Regions from separate parts of the Homo sapiens genome. Here all the other regions are linked to region 3. Evidence: promoter capture Hi-C in 16 types of primary human blood cells and fetal thymus (Javierre and others, 2016). All regions are on one chromosome and are shown on one strand. Each heading gives the region's core, a stretch centred on a gene start or on the middle of the fragment in contact. The rest is flanking DNA. Distances are from core to core; before and after follow the strand shown. Region 1 has its middle 28 kb from the start of RPL38. Region 2 overlaps SLC39A11 (solute carrier family 39 member 11). Region 3 holds the start of CPSF4L (cleavage and polyadenylation specific factor 4 like).

Evidence for each region. Contacts are between HindIII fragments. The CHiCAGO score rates a contact against its expected background, and 5 or more counts as called.
Region 1: a fragment that was not itself captured here is called in contact with the fragment with the promoter of CPSF4L in region 3 in 1 of 17 cell types (total B cells); the score reaches 6.8 in total B cells.
Region 2: a fragment that was not itself captured here is called in contact with the fragment with the promoter of CPSF4L in region 3 in 1 of 17 cell types (fetal thymus); the score reaches 5.7 in fetal thymus.

What each region holds. Positions count from the first base shown.
Region 1 is chr17:74,174,000-74,177,566 of GRCh38, reverse strand. No RefSeq gene overlaps it. Among named protein-coding and RNA genes, the nearest start is that of RPL38, 28 kb to the left of the region's middle. The HindIII fragment of the contact is 2,587 bases long and covers 844-3,430 here.
Region 2 is chr17:72,707,395-72,710,819 of GRCh38, reverse strand. All of the region lies in intron 7 of SLC39A11 (solute carrier family 39 member 11), which reads left to right. Among named protein-coding and RNA genes, the nearest start is that of LINC00511, 69 kb to the right of the region's middle. The HindIII fragment of the contact is 4,413 bases long and covers 1-3,425 here.
Region 3 is chr17:73,259,906-73,263,405 of GRCh38, reverse strand. CPSF4L (cleavage and polyadenylation specific factor 4 like) reads left to right here and starts at 1,526. Exons shown (of 6, transcript NM_001129885.1): 1 at 1,526-1,690; 2 at 2,423-2,473. The coding sequence starts at 1,588. The HindIII fragment of the contact is 15,055 bases long and covers 1-3,500 here.

The DNA of each region.
Region 1 (3,567 bases), core at 888-3,387, 910 kb before region 3:
AGGTAGCTGTCAGGTGGTAGGGTTGGGGTGAGCCCTTGGTGGCTTGGGAGCAGCTCTCTCTGGTGCACAGCAGGTGTTGGGAAGTATGTGTTGAATAAATGAATTTAGATTATTTTATGGTTCACTTGCTTATGTCTGCCAGTGACTCATGCTGTGTGCCTCTTCTTTCCTCTGCACACATCTCTCCCTGTGCTCATCCATGCACACACACATGCAGGCACACACTGTCAACAGCCTGGTATGATGCTGGGCACCTGGGAGTGCTGACTAAGTGTCTGGGGGGGGGGGTCACATGATGGAGTGGCTGGCAGATTGGCAGCCACCGTGGTAGGAAGCTGTCCTATTTGTCTGGAATTTGGGCTTGTGCTCAGCTCCTAATGACTCACTTTGTGGATTGGCCATGGGGTGTTTCATCCACAGGTTCTCTCCCCTCCTCATCACCAGGGAGGTGTCTGGGTGGTCTTCAGCAAGGATGGGCAACATGGCCATTTCAACACTGGTTCTTGACTCCCATGTTGTTTGGGGGTCTTGGGGGTTCTTCAGAGGGAGAGGGAGGGATGCTGCAGAGGGCAGTATGGAATACGGGGCTCCTTGTTTCTAGATAGGGCTGTCAGAGGCTTCTCCATCTATGGGCCCTGTTCTTGGAAGCCGGGTCTGCGCTGCAGGTCCCTCACACAACCACTAGATGCCAGTGTTTCTTAATGGATGGAAGGGGGAGCCTGGGAAGGGCTGGCGGAGAGGGAAGGTCTAGATGGTCCTAGGGGGATAACAGGGCCTGGGCTGTGCCCATCTTATAGATGGGAATAGTGAGTCCTGGGAACTTAGCTAAGGCACAGGTAAGCTTCTCTAGACACTATGCAGTGAATCTGACGAAAGCGCCAGGGTTCCGGCTTCCACTTCCTTGTTCAGTGTCTTTATTCGGGATGTCTCACCTGTGCTGTCCAAGAAGGGCGTTGCAAACAGGTAAGTGGGGAGGGGCCGGAGGGGATGAGGGTGGTTCTGGGGAATCCAGCTTGGGAGGAGTGGAGCCTGACAATGAGAGAGGGGGTGAGAGAGAGGACTTGGGGGACCAGCAGCTGGAAAAGCACTGTTCATCCCATTCCGGCATTCATCCTTCCTTCCTGCCTCTCATCCTCCTTTCTGTTTTAGTTTGGTATCTCAGAAGGCAGAGAGAGAGACACACACACAGAAAGAGAGGAGGAGAATCAACCAGGTGAGGAGGCTCCACTTTTTTTTTTTTTTTTTTAGACAGAGTATCGCTTATTGCCCAGGCTGGAGTGCCATGACACGATCTTGGCTCACTGCAACCTCTGCCTCCAGGTTCAAGTGATTCTCCTGCTTCAGCCTCCCGAGTAGCTGGGATTACAGGTGCCCGCCACCATATCCAGCTAATTTTTTTTTTTTTGTATTTTTAGTAGAGACAGGGTTTCACCATGTTGGCCAGGCTGGTCTCAAACTCCTGACCTCAGGTGATCCACCAACCTCAGCCTCCCAAAGTGCTGGGATTACAGGCATGAGCCACAGTGCCCGGCCTGAGGCTCCACTATTCAAGGGAGAATCCATCTCGTGCTGAAATGAAGTGCAGGTGTGGGACTTCTGTGCTGTTCCCCATCCTTGCCCCCTGCTCCCTGGCCCTTATTCCTGGCACAGGGCCAGGTGTGCAGGAGGCCCTCCGTAAGTGTGTCTGGGTGGAGGTGGGGGCAGAGCGTGGCCAAGGACGGGAGATGGAGCTCCCTCAGTACAGTTCCTTCTGGCTTCCCATGGGGCAGACCTGGGGATTCCAAAACATGGGGCGAAGATTGACTGTTGAGCCCCCAATACAGTCCCAGCAATGTCAACACCACTCAGGGAAGTCACAGTTAAACATCGGGGGCCACGGCCTCTGCTCAGCCCCATTGGAGGGGAGGAGTGGGGGTCGGGATGGAGGGCAGATCAAGAGAGAGGCTAATGTGGTTTAAGCAGAGATAAGAAAGGCTGTGTGCTGCCTGCAATGCTTCCCGGTGAGCCTAGGATTCTATCATTAGAGACTGATTTATTTAGGTCAAGCCGTGACTCCCCCTAGGAGTTTTACATAGTTTCTTGCATGTAATAGACCATTCAGTAAATATTTGTCAACGGAGTCTCCTTAAAATGAAAATACCCCGAGGAGCGATAAACCATTTTCATTTGCTAACACTTCACCGTGAATTAGTTTATCACACTAACTAGTGTCCTAACAAGGTTTCTGAGGGGGAAACTCAGTACAGATGTGTTCTGAGGAGGCGCCTGCCTGGGAAGACGGGGGAGATGTGGAGTTTGGGCAAGTGCTGGAGATGATGTGACTTGGCCGAGAGCAAGGGCCAGCGTGCTCAAGGTGGGCACAAGGATGTTGGGTGTCTGCTGCCGGCCATACAGTCATGCCTCTTCCCTGTTGAAACTCTCTAAGATCTTCACAGTCCCTGGGAAAATGTCCCAACTCCTCTCTAAGGTTGCAGAGGTCCTTTCTGATCCAATCACCTCTCTCCTCCCCAGCCTCCCGTCTTGACACTGGCAATGCTCCAGCCGGACTCTTCCTTGAACTTAATGAGGCCTTATTACCTCCTTCCCTTTGTACTTGCTATTTATTCCCTATGCCTGGCTTACTATCTCACACTCTTTGCCTGGTTAATTTCAATGAGTTTTTCAAATTTTGTTTAGATGTCACTTCCTCCAGGAAGTCTTCCATGACCAACCCAGTGTAGAGGAGGCTCTTCTTCTTCTTCTTCTTCTTTTTTTTTTTTTTCTGAGACAGAGTCTCGCTCTATCGCTCAGGCTGGAGTGCAGTGGCGTGATCTCGGCTCACTGCAAGCTCCGCCTCCTGTGTTCACGCCATTCTTCTGCTTCAGCCTCCCGAGTAGCTGGGACTACAGGTGCCCGCCACCACGCCCAGATGATTTTTTTTGGTATTTTTTTAGTAGAGATGGGGTTTCACTGTGTTAGCCAGGATGGTCTCGATCTCCTGACCTCATGATCTGCCCGCCTTGGCCTCCCAAAGTGCTGGGATTACAGGTATGAGCCACCACGCCTGGCCGAGGAGTTTCTTCTTCTAAATGGTCTGGCAGTACTCTGTAACTGCACTCTCCTTGCAATTACATTGCAGAATTGGAAAAAAGTAACAAAAAGTAGTATACATGCAGAATTTAAACAAATTCCAATTGTATAGGAGGCTTATAATAAAAAATTACAGTTGCCTGCTTGTATTAGTCAGAGTTCAGTCAGGAAAATAGAAACCACACCAGTTATCTTAACAGAGAATTTAATATAGAGAATTGGCTAAACAGGTATTGGAGGACTGAAAAAGCCCAAAGAGAACATTGAAGTAGCATGGTTAGAGGAACTAGAGAAAGAAGCCATCATCCCTAGGATGGGCAGAACAAAAGGGAGATGTCGTGGTTATCTGACTCTACAAGCTTGAAGAAGAGGCCCCATGGAGCTGGGTTTAGACCTCAGACGCTGCAGCCTGGCTGACTGGTGCTGCTATCTCTGAAGGAGCATGATGAGATTGTGCAGTAAAAACTGGCTACTGGAATGCACTGCTGCTGCTCGGGG
Region 2 (3,425 bases), core at 836-3,335, 550 kb after region 3:
CCCTAATTTTAAAGCCAGTAGTGGAGGTGGAGGAAGAAAAATCAAATTCTCATTCAACTAAAATAATCTAGGAAGACACTACGTGGCTTCTTGGAAATAAAATCAACAATTTATAAGATTTATAAGGTGGAGATTGTCTTAGTTCATTCATGCTGCTACAACAAAATAGACAGGGTAATTTATGAATAGTTGAAATTTATTTCTCACAGTTCTAGAGGCTGTAAAGTCCAAGATCAAGGCACCAGAAGATTCTGTGTCTGGTGAAGGGCTTGCTCTCTGCTCCACAAATGGCACCTTGTTGTGTCCTCATATGGCAAGAGGGCAAAAAAGACTTGGGTGTTCCCTTCAACCTCTTTTATAAGAGCACTAATCTCATGCTTGAGGGTGGAGCCCTCATGACTTAATCACTTCCCCAAAAGCCCCACCTCTTAATACTACTGCACTGGGTCTTTGGTTTCAACATATGAATTTTGGAGGGACATACACATTCAAGCCAAAGCAGAGATGAAAGAATAACAGGATGTGATTCAAAGAAAACAAATCAAGGTGAAAACAAAGGTGGGTGGATTTAAAAAATGAGAACCACAGGGGAACTGAAATCATGGTGCCAGAGTAGAAAGTCACTGGCAGGAGATAAGAACAGCACTGGCATTGTAGAAAAGCATGCTGGCTGTATGAAAGAAAAATGATATATTCTCCCTGTAAGCAAAGGACGAAGAGGGAAATTAAGAGAGACAGGGGAAGCAATAGGTGTGGTTGGCAGAACAGATGACCCAGAGACTTCTGCATGTTCCTCAAAGAGCAACCAGATCAATTTGAACAGGAGCAACAATCAAAATTATAATTGAAAATAAAACCTCTGGAACCTGAGGGGAAAATAATCTGAGGATGCAGCTCAAAAGAAATCAACCACATTTTAGTTGAATTTAATGAAAAGAAAATTGCAATGTGACATATCCTGGGAAAACTTTTGAGTTGCAGATACATAAAATATCACAAAACCATCCAGATAGGAAAAGCAGGTTACTTATAAAAGAGTTAAGTTCAGGTTGATCAGCAATTAGAAGTGAAAAGGGACATTCACTGAAAGGATACAGGAAATAGGGGCAAGAAAATCTTCAGCTTCATGAACTGAAATTGAACCTGGAAAGTTCTCTCTCTCTCCCTGTCTCTCTCATACACTTACGTGCACACACACAAACTTCCTTCATCATTTCTTTGCCCAACAGCCATTGTCCATTGAATACCTTTTTCTTTATCAAGTTTTAATTAAGTGAGAAGGAAGATATTTGGCTCAGCTCATCTCTGTTCAAGGAGAAACCCTCAAGCAATAGGTGAAAGAGCAGCCTATACATCAGATCTCTTGAGGCAGGTGTCCACACCTGGGCCAATTGGTGAGCACACCTATCAAGAAAGAGCTCAAGCCAGGCATGGGGACATGCACTTGTATTCCCAGCACTTTGGGAGGCTGAGGTGGGAGGATCACTGGAGCCTGAGCAACATAATGAGACCCTGTCTCCACAATAAAAAAGCACTCAGCTATTTCCTCATCAGGCAAGTGAGTTTAAAAAGAAAAAGGCTTGGCCGGGCGCGGTGGCTCACGCCTGTAATCCCAGCACTTTGGGAGGCCGAGGTAGATGGATCACGAGGTCAGAAGATTGAGACGATCCTGGCTAAGATGGTGAAACCCTGTCTCTACTAAAAAATACAACAAAAATTAGCTGGGTGTGGTGGCAGGCGCCTGTAGTCCCAGCTGCTCAGGAGGCTGAGGCAGGAGAATGGCATGAACCTGGGAGGCAGAGCTTGTAGTGAGCCGAGATCGCGTCACTGCACTCCAGCCTGGGCAACAGCGCGAGACTCCGTCTCAAAAAAAAAAAAAGAAAAGAAAAAAGGCTTTGCCTAGGTTTCTCAGAAAACAGAGCCAAAGGCAAAGTTCATGCGTTATGAGTTGTGAGCAGTGTGCTGCCGCAGAAGCAAAAGTGAAAAGGAAGTGAACAACACAGGAAGGCAAGAAAGCAAATCCAAGGCTTATCATTGAGCTAGCTACAGCTTCTCAAAACAAGTCAATCTTGATGCTCAGTCATGGGTTGGGAAGAATATCTTCAAGGAGACTGAATGGAACTGCTGAGTGAACTCTCCTTGGAAAGGGCAGAGAGATTGTAGAAGAATGGAGAAGCAATGCTGTGGCCATGGGTCTTCCTGAACTTGGGGGTCCCTGAGACCATCCCCGATATTAGGAGATGAGGTAACAGGCTGTAGGCAAGAATGACATGATGTACCAGTCAAGGTTCTCTGGAGAGACAGAACCAATAGGATGTGTATATATAGAAAGAGATTTGTTACGAAGAATTTGCTCATGTGATTATGGGAGCCAGCAAGTCCAAATTCACACAGTGGGCTGGCAGATTCAAGACCCAGGAGAGTTGATGGTGTGGTTCTAGTTCAAAGGCAGTCTGCTGGAGAGTATTTTTCCTTTTCCTACTTGGTGGTGGATCAGTCTTTTTGTTCTATTCAAGCCTTCAACTTACTTGGATGAGGCCCACTTAGATTCAGGAGGGCAGTCTGGCCTACTGTACCAATTAAAATGCTTATCTCATCCAAAAGCCCTCACAAAAACACCCAGAATGTGTGACCAAATATCTGGGCACCTCCTGGCCCAGTCAAGTTGACACATAAAATTAACCATCACACATGAGAATTGCTGGGGCTGCTCAAGCAGGATACAGGGCAAGTGGCCAATGTCCAGAGTCCAGGAGAACCTCGGAACTGGAGTGGAGCAGTCTGGTTCTGTACAATGGACTTGGCAAGCAGATTGACTACCATGTCTGGTACAAAATTATTATAGTGTAGTTATTGTTCTGCAGAAATTAGAATTGATTATGTGTTTATCTTTAAATTCTATTGACTTGCCTCTTACTGATAAAACCCTTATCGTTTAAACTGGTTGTCCTTTGAGGATATTTTTGCCATGCTTGAGAAGAATGGATAAAAAGAGGCTTCAAGGCTGAACTTTGGCTTTTGCTTGGCAATTATTATTCCATGCCGTACGCTTTGCCTTCCTAACCGTTTTCTCTTTGGTGGAAACAAGATGAACCCTGACTTAATATAACAGAACAAGGATGTGTACCCATGTGGATGTAGGGGTGCCAGAGGGAATGATCGGGACTTTGTGCAACTCGTAAATGTGGAGATGATGATGTGTTCATAGTTGCTTGATGACACAGGAGTTCTTCAATATTTCTCCTCCTTAAGTGATCTTTATTTGCTTTCCTGTCTGCCCTGCAGTACCACCAGTGTCTCCCTGCCTATACATGTATACATATTCTCACTTGGGACAGGTCCACATTGTGTCAGTTGTAATCAATATAGCAAAACTTATTTTCTTTGTTGTTTTTGAGACATCTGTCATTCGGGGTCTCTTTCTG
Region 3 (3,500 bases), core at 277-2,776:
AATGGCTAATGTCCCCTCCTTGATGGGGCCATCTCTGAGGATAGGGACGTGGCCCTAGTGCAGAGATGCTCAGGGATGTTTAGGGAAGGAAGTCATCAAGAGACCTAGATGTGAACCCCATCCATAGCGCCTCCCAAACCATGTGGTCTTGGCCTCCCTGGGCTTTGATTCCCTCATCAGTCCTGCCTGCGCTGCCAGGCTTCTGTGAGCCTTTAATGAGCCTGTGTTGACAGATGAATGCATTCTTGGGACTACTAATCAACGCATACAACTAAGGCCAAGAGAAGCCAGGGTTTCTACCCCAGGGACCCCCTTGGCCCCACCCTCTAGCCCTGGAGCTGGGTCCCTCTGCCTCTCCCAGGATGCAGTCAGAGGCCTGAGCTTCTGGAAACTCTTGGATCTCGTCCCTGCTCCTCCCAGTCCCACCTCGGCTCCAGGTGTCTATCTCTCCAGCTATTTTCTTTTCTGATCTGGAGTTCAAAAGAACAGATCTAGGAGCAACAGCCACGGGGAACAACAGCCAGCAGGCTAGTTCATGTTGGCCCAGCTGAGAGCCTGCGGGGCTGCCCACCTCTCCCTGCTGGGTTTGGGCACCCAGAAAGGAGGGCGTATGGGTTCTGGTTCTATGGGCATTAAAAGCCAATGTGACTGAGAACAGCAGCTCTAGTTAGAGGCAAGGCCAGTTTGGGGCCAGAGCAGGGGGAGGGGGAACCTGGTCTAATTAGAGCCCTAACATGCTCCTTTGAAAGCATTGTCAGATGTCCCCAGCCCTGCAGGCAGGGGTGGTGTAATAATAATAAAACAACATTTGCATAGAGATTTCATTTATAAAGCACTTTCTCAGGGGTGGGGTGGCACTGGGTGGCCCTGTGGAATCCTGGCTGGGAGGCCGCCCTGGCCTTGGTCGGTTCCGCCCTCCCGCCAAGCTGGCGATTGTGTGCGAGGTAAACAAAGCGCCATTCATCCAACTGTTTCAGTTCCTCTCCTCTTCATTCCTTTTTCCCTGTCTCCCACGAAGAGCTCACTCGGGGCTTGTCACTCAGGCCAGAAAAGGGGTGTCAGGGGCCCCAGAGGGAGACCCCTTCCCTCATGGGAAGAAGCGGGGAGGTGGGACGGCTCCCTCCCTCTGCAAACCCCCACCACCCCCAGCTCTGGCAGAATAACAGCCTTGCTGCGGTTGGTTTGTGCAACTCTTTGCTAACCTGTGGCTGTGTCTTCATGGACAAAGTATGAGCCCAGGTTTGGTAATGTCTGTGTGCACGCCACGTTTGTGTTCGGTAACATGCAAAGATAAGCAGTTTGTGGGGCTCTGCGAATCCCTCCCTATCCGAGTGAGCCTTGTGTACACAGTGTGGGGGTGAGGGGCCCTGGGGTGTCTGCCCCTGCACTGGGTGGGCCGGGTGAGGCAGCTGGGCCCTGCTCCTGTACAGCCCAGGCTGGAGCGTCCCCTGCAGTCACCTGGCCACTGGCACCCTGGGGTGAAGGGGGAGGCATTGGGCGCTGGCCCCTTAAGGGCCTCTGATGAGCTATATTGGGCCCACCTGCCTGGGTTCCAGCAGCTTCCGCAGCCCCAGCAGGAGACGGAAGATGCAAGAGGTCATTGCGGGGCTAGAGCGGTTCACCTTTGCCTTCGAGAAGGATGTCGAGATGCAGAAGGGCACTGGGCTCCTGCCTTTCCAGGGCATGGACAGTGAGTGAGGGTGGGGCCACTTTCCCTCCCCTACCTTCTCTGTTTTTTTTTCTTTGAGACGGAGTCTCGCTCTGTAGCCCAGGCTGGAGTGTAGTGGCACAATCTCGGCTCATTGCAAGCTCTGCCTCCTGGGTTCACGCCATTCTCCTGCCTCAGCCTCCCGAGGAGCTGGGACTACAGGCGCCCGCCACCACGCCCAGCTGATTTTTTGTATTTTTAGTAGAGACCGGGTTTCACCATGTTAGCCAGGATGGTCTCAATCTCCTGACCTCGTGATCCGCCCGCCTTGGCCTCCCAAAGTGCTGGGATTACAGGCATGAGCCACCACGCCCAGCCTCCCTCCCCCTTCCTTCTCTACAGGCCTCTCTGCTCAACTCCCTGATGCGACCGCCCCTTCTCTGTCTCTCTCTTCTGTGGCTTCGGGGCAACCCATTTTCCAGACTGAGAAAGAGAGGCACAGAGAGACGGTGAATTGAGAGAAGCCACACTGGCCTCCCGAGCTCCTGGGCCAGGCTTGAGCCCCTCGAGCTCCTCTGTTTCAGAGTTGGGGGGTTAAGGGTTGAGGTCTGCTGGCTGGCTCTGCAGGTTAACCTCTACAGGGCCCAGATTTGGGATCCCATAGGCCAGAGCCTGGGGGAGGTCTAGGTGGGACATGCCGATGGAGGTGGAGGCTTCCGGAACAGCTGCAGCCTCTGGGGAAGCTACCTTCTCCGTTCCCTCTTCTCCTTCCAGAGTCGGCCTCAGCTGTGTGCAACTTCTTCACTAAAGGGCTCTGTGAGAAAGGTGAGTTAGCAGACAGGCCTGGGCCCCAAGCTGGGTGAGTGTAGGGTCTGTCTGAGCTACACCCAGCAGGGGCTCTGCCTGGCCTGGGATAGGGTGTCGAATTTGCACCTGGGGAGGGAAAATTGGGATGGAACGGAATTTTATTTTTATTTTATTTATTTATTTTTAGATGGAATCTCGCTCTGTTGCCCAGGCTAGAGTGATCTGGCGTGATCTCAACTCACTGCAACCTCTGCCTCCTGGGTTCAAGCGATTCTCCTTCCTCAGCCTCCCGAGTAACTGGAACTACAGGTGCATGCCACCAAGCCCGGCTAATTTTTGCATTTTTAGTAGAGATGGAGTTTTGTCATGTTGGCCAGGCGGGTCTCAAACTCCTCACCTCAGGTGATCCACCTGCCTGGGCCTCCCAAAGTGCTGGGATTACAGGCGTGAGCCACCATGCCCGGCCATGGAGCAGAATTTTAGACTTACAGGTAGACAAAGGATAAGTGGTTGGATCCACCGAGCAGCCTGCCCCTCCCCTAAGATTTTCCCGCCTCAGCAGCAGTCTTCATAGTTTGCAGTTCGCATCAGGGTAACCAGGCTGCCTGGAAAGGGGTATTTTTTTCTTTCTGCCTTGCTGGGATGGGCGTGTGTCTGAGCTTTGGCCTGTGCATTCCCAGGAGGCTCCAGCTTCTTAATGTTTTTCTTGATTTCCTCCCAGCTAGAAGAGAGGCATCCTTCTCCCCCAGTCCCCTGCTCTGACTCAGTTTGTAAACTGGTCAATTGTCTCATCCATTCCCTATGCCCTGAGGTAGCACCTGCCACCATCTTTGAAATGCTATCAAAAAGCATCCTCCACTTCTCTCCTGCCCTGACTTTGGGTCAATACTGTCTTCCTAGGCCCCTCTCCCCAAATGCAGCCATTCTGGGAAGGCCTGATTCAAATATAAGAGTTTTCAACTTTTCTTCTGGCTCATGGCTCATGTAGAGGCTCTTTCAACAGAAATATACAATTGCCAAAAAAAACTGGCTTCCAGTTTTAGGG